Regions from separate parts of the Homo sapiens genome. Here all the other regions are linked to region 1. Evidence: promoter capture Hi-C in 16 types of primary human blood cells and fetal thymus (Javierre and others, 2016). All regions are on one chromosome and are shown on one strand. The core of a region is centred on a gene start or on the middle of the fragment in contact, and the rest is flanking DNA. Distances in the headings are between cores, read along the strand shown. Region 1 holds the start of PTGER2 (prostaglandin E receptor 2). Region 2 overlaps ERO1A (endoplasmic reticulum oxidoreductase 1 alpha). Region 3 overlaps RTRAF (RNA transcription, translation and transport factor).

Region 1 (3,935 bases), core at 1,029-3,528:
AGATTTATAGGGCCCACTCTAGTCTTCCTCTTGTCACATACCTTACCACAGGTGAGACACCCTCAGGGCACTATTCACCCAGACCCCATTACCCCTCCATTCTAGACCACCTTCCAGGTACCTGAGATCATGAAATTTCCTGCTCAAATGTTGGTCCCATAACTCGCTTCCAGGGCTTGATCAGGCATCTTCCCTAGGTCCATCCAATCAAGGGTCATTTGCATGTTTGAGATGCATATTCCCAGGACCAAGGTGGCTTTGGGGAGAGAGCTTGGTTATCAACAACTATAGTGTCCACATATTGAACTATACTGTCCACATATTGAACTATACTCTCCACATATTTCTGTGCAAGACTCCTTGTGGTGCAAGACTGAGTCAGGGGTTAGGAAGACAAGGGGGCAGGGGCCTGGGGGAGGATCTTCAACTGCACTCTTGCTCTCGTATTCACAAAAACCAGGGGCCGGCCTGCCACCAGGTACCCATCCAAAGAAAAGCTAGAGACAAATATATAGGAAAGGTTAAATAGTAGGTTTTTGTTGTGAGGGGCCTTATGAAAATTAAAAAGGTATAAAAATATTCGGAAAATAAGCACTGTGCAAATTCAGTGAATCTAAAATCCCTTATTTAATAGTAAAACTGCAGTGCAGAATTATGCTATAAATCATAGTGTTTTCCTATTAAGAAATACTTCTGATTTAAGTTTGATGTTTCCCCATTGCTTGGGGTGAGATGGGGGAATGTTGGAGTAGGGGAATAGTCAGAGATGGATGGCAAAGATTGGTAATAAGTTGTTACTGACCTGCAGAGTTTACAGCTTGAAAGAAAAACTGTAGGAGTTAAGATCCTCTTTCCTAGGAATCCATGCCATGAGAAGTTTAGGGATTGAAGTAGTGCCTGCTGACATGTGAAAACCGGCCTGTAAACTTTGCAAGCGATCCAGTAAATTATGCTTGTTCTAGTGGGAACCACCCCCCCCAACTCCGCATTCCAATCCCCAGGCCAGAATCATCAAAGTTGGCAAAAAATATTCATGGAGAGTAAGCAGGCTGTAGCAAGATAGGCTCTTCAGCAGGCAATCTTTGCTTCCTCCCACGTTATGACTGTCTTTCTTGCCAGTTCCCTAGGCAGATCAGACCCTTCACTTCCCAGTTGGCCTCCCTTCCCCAAGTGAATGTGACTTCTTACAGAACACAATTACCTATGTTGTCTGCCAAACTGGATTTTGTTTTGTTTTGTTTTGTGTTAAATATCAGCCCATTTTCACGACTCTGCAATTATGACAATATGTGGTAGGAAACCATTACTGTCAGCTCCAGTCTGAAACTGGCCACTTACCAATACACTTTGCCAGGAACAAGTCTTTCTGGATGGATACTACGTGGTTAACAACATGTAAAGATAAACGGCTAAACAAAATATCAACATTTTCTTACAAGGCTCAGCTTAAGGACAGAACAGTGATGTGCAATGGTTTTCATGTTGTATCCACAAACACAATTCTGTATAAGACACACTCCTCTTTTTTTAATGGTTGCTTAAACAAGTGGTTATCCGTTATGCTGTTGACATAGGAAACGGTGAAATGCTAGTAACCGAATCAAAGCGGCAGTGCAACAGGCCGCTCGGTGGTGCGCATTGTGTGGTTTGGTTCCTTGGATGGACACACTTGCTTTACGCTTCATCCCAATTTTTGTCCCAACCTCTTAGTGTATCTTCCTGGGAATAGTAAAAACAAAGCAAAACATTCTGGTCTTACTTCAAGCTGCCTTTGCACTGTTATTCCCTTGTTCCGCTCATTTCACGGGATTGGGTTCTCCTAACTTCATTGTTTGGTGAGTTGCTTTGCTTTGCTCGTTGCCCCGATCTTCTGTGTATTCTGCGCAGACCCCGCAAGTGCTCCTGCACTCCCTCCCAGCCCTCTGCTGGGGCTTAACGCTTCCCAGCCGAGGTCAGACTGCCGTGCGCTTCGAGTACCGGACCCCGAGGAAGCGAGAAACGCCGCTCCCGCCGGTCGCGGGCAGCTTCAGTACACCGGCAACACGCGCGCCTCTGCCCAGTGCCGCGCCCAGCGGGTGCTCAGACTCCTTCTCTCCCTCCCCGCCGGCGCGCCCCAGGGACTCGGAACGCCCCCGCGAGTGTGACGCGTCCTGCCTCCCCTGCAGCTCGCGGACACTCGCACTTGCAAGGCCTGGCCAGCACTCTTGGGCCCGCCCCCCGACAGTGCGGGGGCGGAGACGACGGCTCCCCTAGGCTCTGGCTCCCGGCCTTGGCCGGCGCGGGTAGGCGCGGGAGCCTCGAGCGCCGCTCGGATGCAGCAGCCGAGCCGCCACTCGGCGCGCGGCGGGAGACCCAGGGCAAGCCGCCGTCGGCGCGCTGGGTGCGGGAAGGGGGCTCTGGATTTCGGTCCCTCCCCTTTTTCCTCTGAGTCTCGGAACGCTCCGGCTCTCAGACCCTCTTCCTCCCAGGTAAAGGCCGGGAGAGGAGGGCGCATCTCTTTTCCAGGCACCCCACCATGGGCAATGCCTCCAATGACTCCCAGTCTGAGGACTGCGAGACGCGACAGTGGCTTCCCCCAGGCGAAAGCCCAGCCATCAGCTCCGTCATGTTCTCGGCCGGGGTGCTGGGGAACCTCATAGCACTGGCGCTGCTGGCGCGCCGCTGGCGGGGGGACGTGGGGTGCAGCGCCGGCCGCAGGAGCTCCCTCTCCTTGTTCCACGTGCTGGTGACCGAGCTGGTGTTCACCGACCTGCTCGGGACCTGCCTCATCAGCCCAGTGGTACTGGCTTCGTACGCGCGGAACCAGACCCTGGTGGCACTGGCGCCCGAGAGCCGCGCGTGCACCTACTTCGCTTTCGCCATGACCTTCTTCAGCCTGGCCACGATGCTCATGCTCTTCGCCATGGCCCTGGAGCGCTACCTCTCGATCGGGCACCCCTACTTCTACCAGCGCCGCGTCTCGCGCTCCGGGGGCCTGGCCGTGCTGCCTGTCATCTATGCAGTCTCCCTGCTCTTCTGCTCGCTGCCGCTGCTGGACTATGGGCAGTACGTCCAGTACTGCCCCGGGACCTGGTGCTTCATCCGGCACGGGCGGACCGCTTACCTGCAGCTGTACGCCACCCTGCTGCTGCTTCTCATTGTCTCGGTGCTCGCCTGCAACTTCAGTGTCATTCTCAACCTCATCCGCATGCACCGCCGAAGCCGGAGAAGCCGCTGCGGACCTTCCCTGGGCAGTGGCCGGGGCGGCCCCGGGGCCCGCAGGAGAGGGGAAAGGGTGTCCATGGCGGAGGAGACGGACCACCTCATTCTCCTGGCTATCATGACCATCACCTTCGCCGTCTGCTCCTTGCCTTTCACGGTAAGTCACTCCCTACGTTTCCACAGCCCGGCTCTGCTCAGCCTTCTCATGCTCTCCCCTGACGCCTCCACCCTTTCCACCGCCCTACAAACTTTTTGCAACTTGTAAAAATATGTCCTAATTTGTAAAGATCTGTAGCCTTCCCCACTAGTTTCCCCTCCTCTTTAGCCCACTTCCTTATCCTGGCTTATGGGCGTTGCTAGGCTAGAGTTTCTTATACAATAATACAGACCGTCCGAAAGGGAGTCCTGGGCCTCAGCTAAGCTAGCCAATCTCCTCATCCTAGCCCTGGGCAGTGTCCCTTTCTCGCTGTTGCCTATCTTGGCTTAGTAATTGAGAAAGAGGCAGCCCCTTCCACCTTAGGATGGCTGTCACTGTTCCAGCCTGACGACCTGGAGCTGCAGTTTGCTGCCCTGTACCTCTCATCCACTGGTGCTGGTTCTCCATGCTTGCCTTCTGTTCCTGCCAGGGCAAAATGTAGTACCCAACCCATAGCATTCCAGCTGCCATTGAAAATGGTCCCAGATGAGAAGGGTCCCTGAAGCAGAAGTTTAGAGCATTTGTTATTTGTCCTAAA
Region 2 (3,935 bases), core at 788-3,287, 330 kb after region 1:
CTTATTTCATGCTTTTCTTTAATCATTTTGATAGGAAATAATTATTTTTAAAAGAATTATTAACCTTTTTATATAATGGTGAGTTCACAAAGAGATTTACATGTACACCTATGTTAAACAACATGATTTTTCTACCACTATCAGAAAAATAATTGGATAAAAAAACTGCTTTTAAGCAATTTTTAATGTACAAATTCGATAAGATGAATATTAAAATTCAATGAGTAATTATAATTATGATTTTATACATACATATACACACTTTTTTTTTTTTTTTTTTGAGATGATGTCTTGCTCTGTCACCCTGGCTGGAGTGCAGTGGTATGATCTCGGCTCACTGCAACCTCTGCCTCCCGGGTTCAAGCGATTCTTCTGCCTCAGCCTCCTGAGTAGCTGGGACCACAGGCATGCTCCACCATGCCTGGCTAATTTTTTTTGATTTTAGTAGAGTTGGCCAGGCTGGTCTTGAACTCCTGGCCTCAAGTGATCCACCCACCTTGGCTTCTCAAAGTGCTAGGATTACAGGCATGAGCCACCGTGCCCGGCCCTAATTATGATTATAAAAGTCAATAGAGGAAAATAAAGACGATCATGTACTAATTGTATATGTCTACATACTGGAGGTATTTCATAATATCCCATAATTCTGTAATGAAATGATTTCTTCAAAAAAAATATTCCTGGCTGGGCACAGTGGCTCACGCCTGTAATCCAGCACTTCGGGAGGTGGAGCCTGGCAGATCACCTGAGGTCAGGAGTTCAAGACCAGCCTGGCCAACATGGTGAAACCGTGTTTCTACTAAAAATACACACACACACACACACACACACACACACACACACAAATTAGCCAGGCGTGGTGTCACGCACCTGTAATCCCAGCTACTTGGGAGGCTAAGTTGGGAGAATCGCTTGAACCCAGAAGGTGGAGGTCGCAGTGAGCCGAGATCACGCCACTGCACTCCAGCCTGGGCTACAGACCAAAACTCCGTCTCAAAAATAAATAAACAAATAAAATAAAAAGGATATTCCTTACCCAGTTTTTTCTGAGAGCATATATGTTGCATTAGACTTACTTGGCTACCAGAAGCATTTCAGTACATTCAAACTAACCTTCCAAATGCGTTGAATAATGATACTATTTCTTGTCTGGTTAGATGGAATTCATAACTAGGTCCACTTTCTGGCATATTTGCTATCAATTTCTCAGAAAATAAGATCTTCAGAGCAGTGCCCAAACCCTGAGTCTGTAATAGAAATAAGGAAAAAAGAAAAATTAGAAAATTATTCATGCAAAGGGTAAATGAGAAATAGGAATGACTAAATTTGCTTACCTGAAGCTTTCCCCACAGACGACATTTAAAACAACCAACACAATCCATAATTCTTGAAATATTTCTAAAATGCAGTCGAAAGTCCTCCTGAAAACAATTTAACAAGATTTTATTAAGATGTAATATACAGTCAATTAGTAAGTATTTTCTGAGCAGGTTCTATGTGCCTAACACTGTGCAAGGTACTATGGGGTACCAAAAATGAGAACAGCACTAATATTCATTGATTCTACATACCAGATCCTTACATACACAATCTCATTTAATCTTCACCACAAATCCAAAGGTAGTTATTATTATAATCTACACCTAATGAATGTAAAAAACAAGATTCAGAGTGTTTAGGTAACTTGCCTAAATTCCCACATCTAGTAAACAAAAAACTTAGAAACCAGGCCTGTCTGACTCCAAAGCTAAACTATCTGCAAAAATATACAAAATAACTTTGTCAAGGTGTCCATTGTAGGTGATTAACTATATGTCAATAGGTGGAGAAAGGAGGGTGAGACAGGGTTAGAGAGCATCATTTACCAGAAGGAATGGAGGGAGGGAATGAGAGAAGGCAGGAATGGAAAGGAAAAAAAAAATCCTTTGGTTTCTTTTTTTTTTTTTTTTTTTTTTTTTGAGAGTATCGCCCTGTCACCCAAGCTGGAGTGCAGTGGGGGAATCTCGCTCACTGCAAGCTCTGCCTCCCAGGTTCACACCATTCTCCTGCCTCAGCGTCCTGAGTAGCCGGGACTACAGGCACCTGCCACCACGCCCAGCTAATTTTTTTTTTTTTTTTTTTTTTTTTTTTTTTTTTTTTTTAGTAGAGGCAGGGTTTCACCATGTTAGCCAGGATGGTCTCGATCTCCTGACCTCGTGATCCGCCCACCTCGACCTCCCAAAGTGCTGGGATTACAGGCGTGAGCCACTGTGCCCAGCCCTTTGGTTTCATAATAATTCAACCACAGCCCTTCTTTCTGGTATGAATAAGGTAAACAATCAGGTCTTCCTTTGTTAATATTAAATTACTATTACTATTAAAATGCAAAAATATATAAAATATAGTGAATGCCACATACCCACTACCAAGTTTTAGAAAAATTTGTCACAAGTACAATCGAAGCCCCTCATGTTATCTCTCGAGTCCCATATCCCACCCTCTACTACTATATTGAATTTGGCATTGTTCCCTTTTTGTTTTTATGCTTTTAATACATATGTATACATCCATGAACCCTAGAATATTATATCATTTATAATAGGGCGACATGCATCCAGCTAATCTAAACATAGTATATGTCCTTAAGGAATATGGAAAAAAGAAGGGAAGCCAAGAACACATCCTTCTTTTCCTTCAATGGAAATTACCAACTGATCCTCCAAGAGACTCCTGTACTGGACTAAGAGGGGAATCTCAAGCTTACAGTATTCTTAGCAGGAAATCTGACATACATCTCAGATAGAACATCCATTATACAAATTGGCCTATAATTTAGGGAGCACACAGTATTTCTCTTATTCTAATGTGATAAACCACACACTAGGCTCAACCAGATGAAGGCAGGACCACAAATCTAAAATAGGAATAAATCAATGATTGGAACCCACTATTCAAAGGAAACCTCAATTTGCTCTGGAGACAGACTTTCCCAACATGCTTTATTCAGTTTGTGACTTTCAAACAGCTGTAACATGAAAGAAAGTTTTAATAGGATCTAAGATGTAATATCTTTATTAATTAAGACAAAGCCCAAATTGTTCATTGTTACCATATCTTAATAATATTCTCTATCTTGGTTTCAGTACCTGTACAGTAAGAGGTACTATTTTTTTTTTATTTTTATGACCACATGACATCCAAGCAACAGGTACTAATTTTAAACCTACTTAAAACTAACCGGTAATATTACTCTACAAAGATTCTGTGATCTGATTTTAGGTTGCCTTTAAACTAGAGCATTGACCAAAACTTAAAGAAAAATCACACTTTTAACAATAATAACAGAGTAAGAAAGTTACCCTAAAGAACATGTTCCCATCCTATGAGCTGTTGACTTCCAGAAGACTTAATGGTTATTATGAGGATCCACAGAATCCACATAGAGACAAGACTATATACCACAGAATAAATAGCTCACATATATGCACTATAAATTTCCAAATGGATAGAAATGTTATGATCAATAAAACACAACTTTTACTTTTAAAGTGTTACTAAATGCATGGTGGCTTTTTGGCAATCATATTTTCAAAATCAACAGATACTAAAAATACTCTGTCATGAGAAGAGGCCTTGAAAGTTCCTGAGTATAAGAGACTCCCATACTTGTGAGAGTTGGAAGCCTCTGTTCTAAAAGACTGTGCTTGCTTTTGTAGACGCTAATTTCAATGTTTGCTTCTACGTTAATTCAAATACTTGAATGTGACAGCTCTTGAGTAAGTCTTTGTATGACATGTACAGAGAGCAGGCATGGCTGCTTACAATAGCCAAATAAACATTGTAAAATTAAAACCAAGCACATCAAATAGCATGCATCTTCTGCTTAAGTGAACTTAATATGCTAGGACCAAATTAATAGGCTAGAAATTTACTAGATCAAATTAGTAAAAATTAGT
Region 3 (3,935 bases), core at 455-2,954, 310 kb before region 1:
TGTTTGTAAAGTAAAATTTAGTTTTATTTTTAATGCTCCCAATTTTAATTTTGGTGTCATCTCAAAAGATACCAGCCTATAACAATTTAGTGGAGTTCTTACAGTCTAGTGTACTTATAAGCATTTATAACTACTATTTGAGGCATATGGTAGTTTTCAGGGGTAGCTTGGTGGCCTGTTGGCAAAGGAAAAAAAAGTGGAGCCTCTGGTACTAGATGAACATATAAAGCCACTCAGTACAATTCTGCTCTTTAATTTTGCTCACTTGTGCTTTCGTACCCATTGGTTTCTTCAGACTTACATGTGTTAGCTGTTTTAAAGCAGACAGAGCCTACGTAGATTTACATTACTAGATAAGGCAAGAATTGAGCAGTGACTAAAGCATTTGAATAGTAACAGGTTGTAACATTGAAAGATTGAAAGTACGGGTAGTGTGTTTTTCTTGGCAGTGATTTTATATAATCAGCAGGAAGTACAGACTGTCCTCATTTTAGAATTTGTTTCTGTGAAGTTTGGCATCACCATAGTCACCATCTTTAGTATGTCCATAGGTGCTGAGTGGTTTAGTTTTTCATTTTCCTAGACTGTTTGTTTCAAAGTAACTTCCAAGTCAAGTCTTGAAAGTTAAATTATACATAATTATACATAATCTTGGCAAACACCATGCTGGCTGAAAGGTTCGTACAATTTGTAAAGACAAATTAATGTGCTCAGAAATGGAATATAAGGTACTATTTTTGCCGTTTATACTGTTGCTTACTGTCGCCAAAATAAGACAGTAACAGCCTGGCTCAACTTGCCTTCCATAGCAGTAATGACAAGGCACTGCTGCAATAAGGATATATTGTTTTGTATGCCTGGGCTAAAGGATTGGATGAGCTATAGAGCTTCCTGGTACATTTAAAGGTTAACTTTTCCCCCTAACCGGTTGAAATAGGGAAAACTCGCTAATCACAATCATCACAAAGCAAATATAAACAAAATTCCTAGTTCCCTTGCCCATGCAGCTAAAAGAGTTAAGACACCAGAATAGCTAGGTGCTTTTCAGTTTCAGTTGAGGAAAGGATGCTATTCTTAACCATAAATACTCTCATTTTGTCTTTCTTTTTTTAAAGGGCTTACCTGTTGCTTTAGACAAACATATTCTTGGTTTTGACACAGGAGGTAAGTGATTTTGTTTAAATTCAAACTATTTTTTTTACAGACTGAATACTTGGGAGGAAATAAATGGCCTTAAATGTAAAAATTATGTATTGAAGCAGTGTTCTTTTCTCATAAAACAGATGCAGTTCTTAATGAAGCTGCTCAAATTCTGCGATTGCTGCACATAGAGGAGCTCAGAGAGCTACAGACAAAAATCAACGAAGCCATAGTAGCTGTTCAGGCAATTATTGCTGATCCAAAGACAGACCACAGACTGGGAAAAGTTGGAAGATGAACACTTGAGGACTTCAGCTTCTCACCTACTTAGTACAGTTGGGAACCATACACTTCTGGCATGTTTGGAAATCAAAATGTCACATTCTCGGGGGAGGAAGCCCAGAAAATTGGGTATGTTCTAGAGATTTACCACCATTGCTTATTGCTTTTTTCTTTAATAAAGTTTAGGAAAGTAGAATTTTTATTATGTACTGTATGTTTGCATAAATCACCTTTCTCCTTTGTGGTTAAGGCATATATGCCAACCCCCAGCTTTGTCCTAGAGACAATATAGATCCTTAAGTCATAGGAAAACTTAAAACACTTTATTGGAGTAATCTAGAAAATTTTAAAATTGTTACATCTTTGGTATTTATAAATGTGATACTTTACTTTCTGTGGGTACTTCTATAGAGGCACTACAGGATCAGAAAATGCAAATTGAATCATTTTAGCACCTTTTGATATAAATAGAAATGCACTGATGCAGAGGTAAAAAATCTTAGAACTTTTGTTGGGAAACTATAAATAATTGGTCCTTTCCCATCAGTTCTGCATTGGCTTCTCCAACTGTCAAGGTTTAGGATTATATTGTTATATTGATCACATGTGCTTTAATTTCTTGGCCAGAAGGAATCCATGGCAAAAATCAGGTTTAGAGTCTTAAACTCTAATTCTTAGTTGAATGAATTTGATCTTTTAAATATTAATGATAAATGTTTACAAGAAGTTGCTTTAATAAGCAACAGTTAAAATTCTGTTACCTTTTTAAACTTGCAATAACAACCTTCATTTTTAAAAATACAGTAGTAAAGATTGAGGTATCAGCTTTTCACAAAAGTCTTTTTGCACTACAAAATGTTCATCTTGGATGCTCAGGAACGTCTAATGGCCAATTCCTTTTTTACTTTCTTTGCCTTTGCAGTCACTGTTCTTTAGGGTCCAGGTTCTGATTGTAAACTCCAAGTCTTCCTTTACATTACTGTACTTACTTTCTTCCTGTGAGAGAAGAGCAGGGGTGGGACAGGGTGGTGGGTGAGTATATTGTAACCAAGTTGCAACAGCAAGTCTTTGCATTTTGTGTATAAACTAGGTAGATTTAAGGTAGTAAAGACTGGCCCTCAGGGCAGGAAGAAGGCAATGGTGGCAGTGTCACAGGCAGCAGGGGTAATCAAATACCATATATATCCCTTCTCTACCCTGCTAATTTAAAGGAGCATCCTAAAGCATACTTTTTACCTGTTGGGCAGTAGGGGTAGACTGCAGTTATCCCGTAGAGGTGAGATCGTTGTTCTGGGAGATACTCATCAGTAAACTGGCCACTATGTTTATTTACTGATACAACACCATCCCTGGTAACAGAAAGGAAGAGTGAATTCAGGGACAGTCATTTACTAGATAAAGAAGTCAGTCAGCCACAGAAAATCAGTTGCAATAGAGGAAAATTTCTGGCAGCCTTCTCTGTCCCAGGGCTGGTGCTAAAGCCATACTGAAGTTTGAAGACCATTGCTCTAAATCCATTGCTCATCTCTAGCTGCATGTTAGAATCACATGATGAGCTATCAAATCAGAGTTGTAGGGCATGGTGTAAAGGGCTTAGACTTTAATGTTCCACAGTTCCTCATTTGAGAACTAGTCTAAATAGTATTTTTCGGTCCCTCAGACAATATGTCCACAGTGTCAAAAGCCAACTTAAGCCCTGTAATATAGCTCATGGTATCAAGGGTAGTCTTATTCTCTAAAGAACATATTTAGATTAATATGCTCCCTTTTGAGACATTATCCAATAGCTTTGCTACTTTTTAAGCTATATGTGAGCAATACCATTCGATTTCTGGGTGAAGTAAAAGGATGATTTCAAAAACATGAAAGGATGAAAAACATCCTTGAAGGATCTTATCTGCCAATGAGGAGGTGATGAAACAAAAGCCTCAGAGGGCTTAATGAGTCAAGTCAGGTACTGACTTTTGGTAAAACAAGTGGTGTGTCCTCTGGAACAGTTGGCCTTTTCAGGCTTGTCCAGAATTTGTGGGGCTCACCTCCTCCAGTCTGTGTGGTAGAAGTGATCTGCATAGCTTACGATGCTGAAGGGGTACTTGAGGTTGTTTTGAATGACACGCCGTCCAGTTCCATCAGGTAGTGTACACTCCAGTTTTTTGGTTCCTTTTAAAACAAAGGGGGAAAATGAGGTCCTTCAGCTGCTTTGCCAAAAATGATAGTGACATAGTGATAGTGACACAGTGATAGAATGGGGAAATAGGATATTTTACTTCCATTACAGTCATAGATTAGCAACTGTAAAATTACCTGTCCTATTACTAGTCTCCAGTTTTTAGTAGAGATTCAAACTTTCAATCCTTTTTTGGAAGACAGGATTGCATTTACTGAAATCTGGTAAGTTTCTGCCAAAGTAGGGCATTAAACATAATTATTTTTATAATTTGTGTGATTTCAAGCCTTAGCTTATAAATTATAACATCTGGGTAAATACTTGCCCTTTGTAAGCTATGTCTATA

Evidence for each region. The method cuts DNA at HindIII sites, captures the fragments that hold promoters and counts their contacts. A CHiCAGO score of 5 or more calls a contact.
Region 2: a contact is called between a fragment that was not itself captured here and the fragment with the promoter of PTGER2 in region 1, in 2 of 17 cell types (M2 macrophages and megakaryocytes). The highest score is 6.3, in M2 macrophages.
Region 3: a fragment that was not itself captured here is called in contact with the fragment with the promoter of PTGER2 in region 1 in 1 of 17 cell types (naive CD8 T cells); the score reaches 5.1 in naive CD8 T cells.

Annotation. Positions count from the first base shown.
Region 1 is chr14:52,312,034-52,315,968 of GRCh38, forward strand. PTGER2 (prostaglandin E receptor 2) reads left to right here and starts at 2,279. Exons shown (of 2, transcript NM_000956.4): 1 at 2,279-3,358. The coding sequence starts at 2,516. RefSeq lists enhancers at 1,509-2,069, 2,070-2,629, 2,864-3,013, 3,034-3,173 and a silencer at 2,234-2,343. The HindIII fragment of the contact is 17,361 bases long and covers 1-3,935 here.
Region 2 is chr14:52,645,041-52,648,975 of GRCh38, forward strand. It overlaps ERO1A (endoplasmic reticulum oxidoreductase 1 alpha), which reads right to left. Exons shown (of 16, transcript NM_014584.3): 14 at 1,335-1,421; 15 at 1,114-1,247. Among named protein-coding and RNA genes, the nearest start is that of ERO1A, 49 kb to the right of the region's middle. The HindIII fragment of the contact is 1,398 bases long and covers 1,339-2,736 here.
Region 3 is chr14:52,003,079-52,007,013 of GRCh38, forward strand. It overlaps RTRAF (RNA transcription, translation and transport factor), which reads left to right. Exons shown (of 8, transcript NM_016039.3): 7 at 1,116-1,164; 8 at 1,284-3,935. The coding sequence ends at 1,438. It overlaps NID2 (nidogen 2), which reads right to left. Exons shown (of 22, transcript NM_007361.4): 20 at 3,459-3,582; 21 at 2,659-2,771; 22 at 1,731-2,418. The coding sequence ends at 2,408. Among named protein-coding and RNA genes, the nearest start is that of RTRAF, 16 kb to the left of the region's middle. The HindIII fragment of the contact is 8,552 bases long and covers 1-3,935 here.